Regions from separate parts of the Homo sapiens genome. Here region 1 is linked to region 2. Evidence: promoter capture Hi-C in 16 types of primary human blood cells and fetal thymus (Javierre and others, 2016). All regions are on one chromosome and are shown on one strand. Each heading gives the region's core, a stretch centred on a gene start or on the middle of the fragment in contact. The rest is flanking DNA. Distances are from core to core; before and after follow the strand shown.

The links. Contacts are between HindIII fragments. The CHiCAGO score rates a contact against its expected background, and 5 or more counts as called.
Region 1: a contact is called between a fragment that was not itself captured here and the fragment with the promoter of ZNF704 in region 2, in 1 of 17 cell types (fetal thymus). The highest score is 6.3, in fetal thymus.

Annotation. Positions count from the first base shown.
Region 1 is chr8:80,488,589-80,492,924 of GRCh38, forward strand. The region is part of intron 1 of ZBTB10 (zinc finger and BTB domain containing 10); the gene reads left to right. Among named protein-coding and RNA genes, the nearest start is that of ZBTB10, 4.5 kb to the left of the region's middle. The HindIII fragment of the contact is 4,296 bases long and covers 1-4,235 here.
Region 2 is chr8:80,873,167-80,877,401 of GRCh38, forward strand. ZNF704 (zinc finger protein 704) reads right to left here and starts at 1,615. Exons shown (of 9, transcript NM_001033723.3): 1 at 1,405-1,615. RefSeq lists a silencer at 294-494. The HindIII fragment of the contact is 1,917 bases long and covers 1-1,859 here.

The DNA of each region.
Region 1 (4,336 bases), core at 838-3,337, 380 kb before region 2:
TAGGGAATTTATTTACCAAACACCGTGAAAGTGCTTACAAAACAAGTAAGCTGTATTTTAGTTCTTAGTCCTTGTTTTAACATTTCCAGTCTAAAGATAGTAAGCCTTACTATTTTGATAATCTGTGTTCAAGCCAAACAGATGTTGATCAGTCCTCCTTTTTGACTTTAAGGCAACCTGTGGTGGTGGATGGAATTCATTCTTTCGTATTGGTTAGCCAGTCGTTGATTTTATAAAGTTAGCTCTTAGTATTCTGTTTATTGGAATGATTCTGCCGTTCAGCACACTTACCCTGGGGTTAATTAGGCGCACCAGTAACCCCACAGACACAGCACCCATGTTTCTCAGAAGTTAGGGCTTTAACTTTAAAGCACAGGGTGATCCCCCGCCCCCGCCCCAGTGGACAATGTAGTAGGGTTTTTGTTGTTGTTTTGCACACATTTTAGTTGCCTAAGCCCTAGAAGGAAGGTCATTTAAAGATACAAGGCCGAGAAAGGTTAAGTAAATAGTCCTAAGAGTCTGGGGTGACCCAACTGAGACTAGAGCCTGTAAGGAATGTCGTAATGGAAAAAGAATGGATTTGGAGTAAATCTGGGTTCAGATCTCAGCTTTCTGCAATTAACTAGCTTTGTGAGCTTGGGCAATAGAGTGAAATGGAACTAACAGCTCCTGGTTTTCCGTGTGCCAAACACATTTATTCTGCAAAGTATTTATTTTTTGTTCCCATTTTACAGAAGAGGAATCTAAAGCCTTAAAGGGTTAAGTAACATTCCTGAAGTTATGTAGTAAGATGATGGAGTTGCAAGGGACTTGTGAAAATGAAAGTTTAATTTTCCAAATAGGGCTATGTTGGTTACTTAGAAAATTTTAAATGGGATGAATTTTCTTAATCGGCTGTGGACCAATTCCTCTTTATCAGCATAGTCTCTCCCTGTAGGCAAATCTGAATGGGAATGCAAATTATAATTAGCTCCTTTAGTGAACCTGAAATCAGAAGAAGGGGCATTAATTGGATAACCTTAAGGTAGCCTCAGCTTGAGTGTATTCTTCTCCTCTGGGTATGTATCTGCGTCTTGGAATTCCTAGGAAAAACCTTTCTAAACTTGACCCGAACTACGACTCTCTTCCTCATCACTCCTTTAAATTCCCCCATCAATGTAATCTGCAGGCCATCTCCTTTCTTTGGGACATTCTATACAATATACATATATTAAGGGCTACAGTTTTAGTAAGTCCTGTGTGTCCTAAGGTTATATATTGGTCTCCTTGATTGGATTTTGGGTGTTTTCACTTTGAATTGATCTTAATCATTTATTACTTTCATTATAACTAATCTTGAGGGGATATCTTGTTATCAACCCCCCAGGTACCACCTATATAAATACCTGTTTGTCTTAACATGAGTAACATGAGTAACAGGTTCCTGATCTCTTTTGGGCAGAGTGCAATCATTTTGTTTTTCGTTTTTCTTCAGTCTCCAATTACCTATAGGAGGCAGTATAACACAACACGTAATGTAAGCGCCTACTTGGGCTTAAGGTCAGAGGACTTTGCTCTTAAATCTCTACTTTTTAGGCAGGCAAATTAGTTAACTTCTAGTTTCGTTATGTATGCAAAGTATATGTGCCAGCATAAAACCACTTAGTGCCGTTATTTATTATCATTATTACCTTTTTGTTTTGTTTTTTTGAGACAGTGACTCTATTGCCCAGGCTGGAGTGCAGTGGTGAGATAAAGGCTCACTGCAGCCTCCTGGGCTCAGGCATCCTCCCGAGTAGCTAGAACTACAGGTGCGCGCCACCATTCCTGGCTAATTTTTAAGTTTTTTGTTGAAACGGGAGTCTCGCTATGTTGCCCAGGCTGGTCTCAACCTTTTGGGCTCAAGCAATTCTCCCACCTTGACCTCCCCAAAATGCTGGGATTACAGGTGTGAGCCACTGAGCCTGGCCGTTATTACTCATTTTGATCACCAATCAGTTCTCCTTTTTATACCTTCAGAGACTTTGTGGCCATCAGGTTCTTTGAACATTCTGAGCCTATTTCTCATACATGCAGTTTTTCTCAGCTTCACAAAGACACTCTTAATATCTTGTCTTAAAAACATGGAAATGAGAGTTTTAGAATTCTTTAGGCAAGAAATCACTTTGAGTCTAGGAGTACTAAACTCCTATTTTCCCAATTATTTCTCAAAGAGTCCCGTTTCTGAGAGGAATTTGGCCACATCTTAACACAGTCATGTACTGCATGACGTTCTCAAGGATGGACTGCATTTATGATAATGGTCCCATAAGATTATAGCGGAGCTGAAAAATTACTATCGCCTGGTGATAGCGTAAAGTTGTAGCGTACTTTGTTTTGTAATCCCAGCACTTTGCGGGGCCGAGGTGGGTGAATCACTTGAGGTCAGGAGTTCGAGACCAGCCTGACCAACATGGTGAGACCCTGTCTGTACTTAGTGTAGCCTAAGTGTACGGTGCTCATAAAATCTACAGCAGTGTATGGTAATGTCCTAGGCCTTTCATTCAGTCACCACTCACTGACTCACCCAGAGCAGCTTCCAGGTATGCCAGCTCTGTTCATGGTGAGTGCCCTATAAGGTGTGCCATATTTTTACTGTACCTTTTTCATGTTTAGATAGATTAGATACACAAATACTATTGTGTTACAGTTGCCTAAAGTATTCCTTACAGTAACATAGTGTACAGATTTGTAGTCTGGGAGCAATAGGCCCAACCATATAGCCTAGGTGTGTAGTAGGTTATACCATCTAGGTTTGTGTACGCTAAGGCACAGTGACAAAATCGATGCATCTCTCAGATCATATCCCTCTCGTTAAGTGATGCATAACTGTATGTCATGAAAGGTTACTTTCCTCTAAGTAAGAAAAGTATCTTTTTGTTAATCCCTTGGTAGTTACCAAAAAGTTAATCCTTCTGTTAATTGGACCTTGGTTATTGTGGACTGTTCATGGGAAAGTCTTTTAAAACATGCTTTCTGAGTCTGTGTTTTGAGCCTTCTATTTCCGAGGTGTCCCTGTATTTATAAGGATGTGAGGGACAATTAATAGTTTAATTTTGAGTAACAATTGACTACATCGTCAGAGTCAGGTTTAATGATTAGCTCATTCAGTATCTGACCATTTGGCCCAGAAGACTTTAAAATTCCTTAATAACAGTGATTACCAGTTATTCTTGGTTTAGACCACTTTCTACCTAATTGTGAAATTTTCATAGCCTAAATCACACATCCTGTCAACTCTTCCTGGGAGAAACATGCATCCAAATGTATTATTGTTGTAAATTTAGTTAACCTTTACAGAAACTAAGTAATGAATTCAGACCAGTGATCTGATTGAAATTTCCAGTTGGAATATATTGATGTCAGTAGCTGAGCAAACAAAAGAATGTAAGGCAGATCTATCAGCCTAATTTGTTTATGGCAGAAATAAGGGCGGAAGGTTGGTTGGTTGGTTACTTGGTTGGTTTTTAACACTTTAGGAAGAAAGTCTGAAAGACCTTTCACTGAGGAAAAATCGATTAGAGTTGAGCCTGTAGCCCATTAAATTCCGTTGTTTCTTATTTATATATTTTACATTATTTATAATTTATTCTTTGTGTTTTATTCAGTAACAGCTAGTTCATAGCCCTTGTGCTTTTCAAACTTGTTAGCAGTGTCTGACTGTATACCTTATTGTGTACCTAGGATTAGCTTCCTTCTCCATCTTAAATTTAGCTGTATTAGGTTGGCAAAGCACTGGAGATAAAAATCTGTATGTTTTGTTAACATTCATTCTCTCTGCCCTCAAGGAACTTGTAGTTTAGTAAGGAGAGACAGACATGACCGAAAAAAGACACAGATAACATGGTAGCAGTATATAATCAGGGTACATTGAAGAATTTTTTTTTTTTTGAGATGGGGTCTCACTTGTCACCCAGGCTGGAGTGCAGTGGTGTGATCTGGGCTCACTGCAACCTCCGCCTCCTGGGTTCAAGTGATTCTTCTGCCTCAACCTCCTGATTAGCTGGGACTACAGGCACATGCCACCATGCTAGGCTAATTTTTGTATTTCTAGTAGAGACGGGGTTTCAGTATGTTGGCCAGGATAGTCTCTATCTCCTGATCTCGTGATCTGCCCACCTCGGCCTCCGAGAGTGCTGGGATTACAGGCGTGAGTCACGCACCCGGCCTGAAGATTCTTAAGGGAGTGATCAGTTCTACCTGCAAAGGTTGGAAGAAGCTTGTACAACTGATTCTTGAATTTTAATTGCATTTAATTAATAGGTGTTGACCAGGATGGGGAGGGCATTTAGGCAGTGCAATTAGAAACAGCCTAAGG
Region 2 (4,235 bases), core at 365-2,864:
AATCTCACTCTCCCCTGCCTCACCCGTCCCCACCGGGCACGAACCGGCGCCTCCGTGGTCCCATCACCCAAGTTCCCCACCTCACTGGGGAGAAGCGCCCTTTCCCGGCACCCACACCAAACAACAAACCCGACACGGCCTTTGAGGAAAGCGGGAGCCGCCGCCTGGGAGAGACGCAGGGGCCCAAGGCGCAGGCAAATCAACAGTTCCTCGCGCTGCCCCGCGCGGCCGCCCGCGCCGCCTGACACACCCCTCCTGGCCGGGTCTCTCCCCGGCGCCGCTGACCGTCCTCGGCCAGGCGCCTTGCCCCGGGGCCCGGGCCCGTCCCCCTCCCCGGGCTGGCGGGTCCCACGCGCGCCACCGCGCCCAACACGCACCTTCAACGCGCCCCGGGCCGGGCCCCTGGGGACTGCGTGGCCGGGTCCGAGGGGCACGAAACGCTCCTCGCCGTCCTCGTCGTCTTCGTCGCCGTCCACCACCTCGACGACCACCTCCTCGTCCTCCTCTTCCTCGTCGTCATCCTCCTCCTCCGCGCCCCCTCGGGGCTTCTCCTCCACACGCCCGAGCCCCCTCCGCCGCCTGCTCCCGCCCTCCTCGTCCTCGTCTTCCTCCCCTAGAAGCAGCAGCACCGGCGACGAGGCGGCGGCGGCGGCCCCGGTGGCCCGAGGGGGGCCGGTCCCGGCGCTGCGCGGCGGCGGCGGCAGCGGCGGCCTCCAGCTCTCCGGGGCGGGCGCCGGGGCCGGGCCCGGGACAGGGGGCGGGAGCCCGGGTAGGGCGGCTTCCTTGGCGGGCGCGGGCGCCGGCCCGGCAGGCTGCAGCGCGGCGCCCCCCCGGCGGCTGCCCAGGCTGGAGCGCTTGGCTAGACGCCGCGCCTGCATGCCTGAGCGCGGGGTTGCGGGCCGCGGCGCGGGGCCGGAGAGTTTGTCACCTCCTCTTCCTCCTCTGCCTCCGCCGGTGGCCGCAGGGCCGGGGACTCGCGGCCGCAAGGGGCTGCAGGAGCCGCCGGCCAGGACCCGCGGCTGCCACTGGCTGCAGAGGCGCGGGCGCCGCCTTCGCTGGACCGGCCGGCGGGGACGCCGGCGGCCGGCGGCTACGGCGGGGCGGCGCGGCGGCCGCGGGCGGGGGTGGGTGTGAGCGAGCGGCGCGCTGCCGCCTCCGCCGCCGCCGCCGCCGCCCGGGAGCCGCGGGCCGCGCTGCGCTCCATGCGGCCGGCGGCCGAGCCCGCGCGCGCCTCTCCCGGCCGGCTGCGCCCGCGCGCTCCGGGCCTACCGCTGCCGTGCCTCGGCGCGAGCTGTTTGTGTTGTATGTTTTCCACCACCGCCCCCCTCTTCGCGAGCCATTCCTCACAACCCTCCGGTCCCCCCGCTCAGACAAAACCCGGACTGGATTTTTTTTTTCTCTTACCCACAGTCTCCGAAAGTCTGGCGCTTCGAAGCAGTTGGCCCTGACACCAGGGCAAACGCTTAACCGCAGCCCATTCTTCCCTCCGGAGGGAGGGGAGTAGACTTCGCTGGAAGTAAGGTTGTCTGTCAAAGTTAGACTTTGAACGTAGAGATTTGCTACAAGTCATTTTAATGGACACTGATGTGCATGGCAGCTACTCCTGAGCTTGTGTGAAATCAAGGAAGGTGTACCAATCTGAGGTTTGGGATGAATTCCTAATATGAATCATCAGAGTCGCTTAGATTTTCGAAACACTGTTTCATGAGCGATTGTCTACCAATCTCACACTCTTTGAACGCACCACTCTAGGCCCTGCGATTGAGCTGCCTTGGCTCTGTGCTGAGTGTGTAGGTCTTTCAGCTTTTACTCCTGCTATTCTACCTTGAGTGCCTGATTTTAATGGCTGAATTCCAAGAAGCTTTCTGTTTGCACTGTCTGATCTGTAGACTCTCTTCTGGCATTGTTCAGGACTTTGAAGAAACAAATGGGTGGGAGTTCAAGATCGTTTGAGTTGGTTACTTAAGAAATTAATATGAAGTAAGACCAAATCTGGAAATCAAGCACATAACATGACTAATTTTGCCATTTTCTGACGATTTTTAGGTGTGATAAAGAAAATATATTTGCTATTGCGTGGGGTTAGGCTATGTAGTAAGTGGTATTTCTTCTTTTATTTATTTTAATTTTTATTTATATATATTTCTTTATTTTTCAGATGGAGTTTCGCTCTTGTTGCCAAGGCTGGAGTGCAATGTCATGGTCTGGGCTCACTGTAACCTCCGCCACCTGGGTTCAAGCGATTCTCCTGCCTCAGCCTCCTGAGTACCTGGGATTAAAGGCGCGCTCCACCATGCCATGCTAATTTTGTATTTTTCGTAGAGACAGGGTTTCACCATGTTGGCCAGGCTGGTCTCAAACTCCTGACCTCAGATGATTTGCCTGCCTTGGCCTCCCAAAGTGCTGGGATTACAGGTGTGAGCCACCGTGCCCGGCCTTAAGTCGTATTTCTTACATTCAAATCATACCCCCAATTCCATCCCTGTAGAGGAGGGCTGGGGAGGATCTTACGCATCAAATACCCTGGTAGGCACCTCCGTGGGGCCAGAATAAAAGGTGTATTCACCTTCAGTTAATTATTGTTGGACATTTAACATCATATGCTCTGTTAGACACTTGAATGGGGCTCATTAAATGCTCACTTATGGTGGCTTCCAACTGTTGAACAGGGATGATGACAAAGATTCTAAAATGAACTTTTTGTTCTCCCTGAATCAGATTAGCTTCCTGATGTACCTATTTCAGGTGATGAAACTCTCATTATAATCATTTGAGCCCAAAATAGCGGTATCATTTTAACTCCCTTCTCTACCTTATCCCTAGAGGCAATTGCCCACAAGTCCAACCCATTGTTCTTTCTAAAATGCATTTTGAATCCACCCCTTCCTTTCCATTCCCAAAGCTCTTACAGCATTTTGTGACTTCAAAAGTGGAAGTTTCTAACAGTTCTACACACCCATTTTCTCACCCACACACCCTCCCTTTCCCTCCTCAGATGCCACCACCAGATTTATGTTTCCGAAACCCCATTTAGATCACACCATTTTCTTGTTGGACTTTATATTTGTAAATATTCTGTTCAGGAATTCAGAGAGAAGAAAACAGAACATTAAGAGATGGGTGTGTCTGATCAAAGCATGGAATAGCAGGGGCTAGCCAATAAGTGAATAATCAGTATCAGCTAGAGTGTGCAAAGAATTAAGAAAGAACATTAAGGTGGTTTCATCCCAATTGGAAGAAATTTAGCTTCGTTGATTTGGGAGATGATTTTAGAGTGAGGCAGCAGGATCTTTCTCTGGCCATGAAAAGGAAAGATCGGGGCAAGGGGTGGGCAGACAGGTATGGAGGAGGTGGAGGAGGACAAAGGTGTGAGGCAAGCTGGCTAGTAGTTAGGCACATGGTCTCAGGAGCACCTAGGTCCGAATCCTGACTCTGGAACTTACCAGCTTTACTTTTACTCATCCTCTTTCTGTGCCTGTTTCCTCATCTGTGAAATGGGGATCATAGTAGTAAAGTTGTTTTGCAGAGTAATGAGTGAATAAATGCAATCAGCTTACAAGAGTGCCTGGGACAAGCTAGGGTTTATATGCGGGCTTATCATACTAAACATTGTAATGGTAGGTAAACAAGGTGGCTTGGGATACTCTCAGAGAATAACAAGGTAGCTCTCTTTTAAGTAAGCTCAGTAATGTCAGTAACTAGCAAAATGTGCTTTTAAAGACCAACAACTTGTCATCGGAGGACCATGGTCAGGCCAAGCATGTAGCTTTTTGTGCCTAAAATTGCTATAGATGAAAGAAAGTAAATGTTTTCCTGAGAACCTAGAGGAAATACAGAGTTAAATGAATTGGTGATTGGCATTTGTGACTTAGTGAAAGATGATACACTATTGTACATTCTTTTAAAATTGCTGTATATGCTTTGAAATCAGCTTATTGTTTCTCTTAGGCCACTTCAATAGACTTCATAGACATCCATTCCCTGGCCCCACATTGCTGGAAAGGCTGCCTCTGAATGGGAAAAAAAAAAAAAAAAAAAAAAAAAAAAGACCTGGCCTTGGCTTTCAAACCATTAAATGAAGGCTAATGTCAAAAAAGAGGTTTCACCCAAGCTGGGCTTTGAGGGATGAGAAGGATCTGTTCAGGCAGGGAGAGCAGCATTGTCTAGGCAAGTGCAGGCCACTGAAGACCACCCTCATTAAATCAGAGGACACTTAGTGGGAATAAAATCAAATT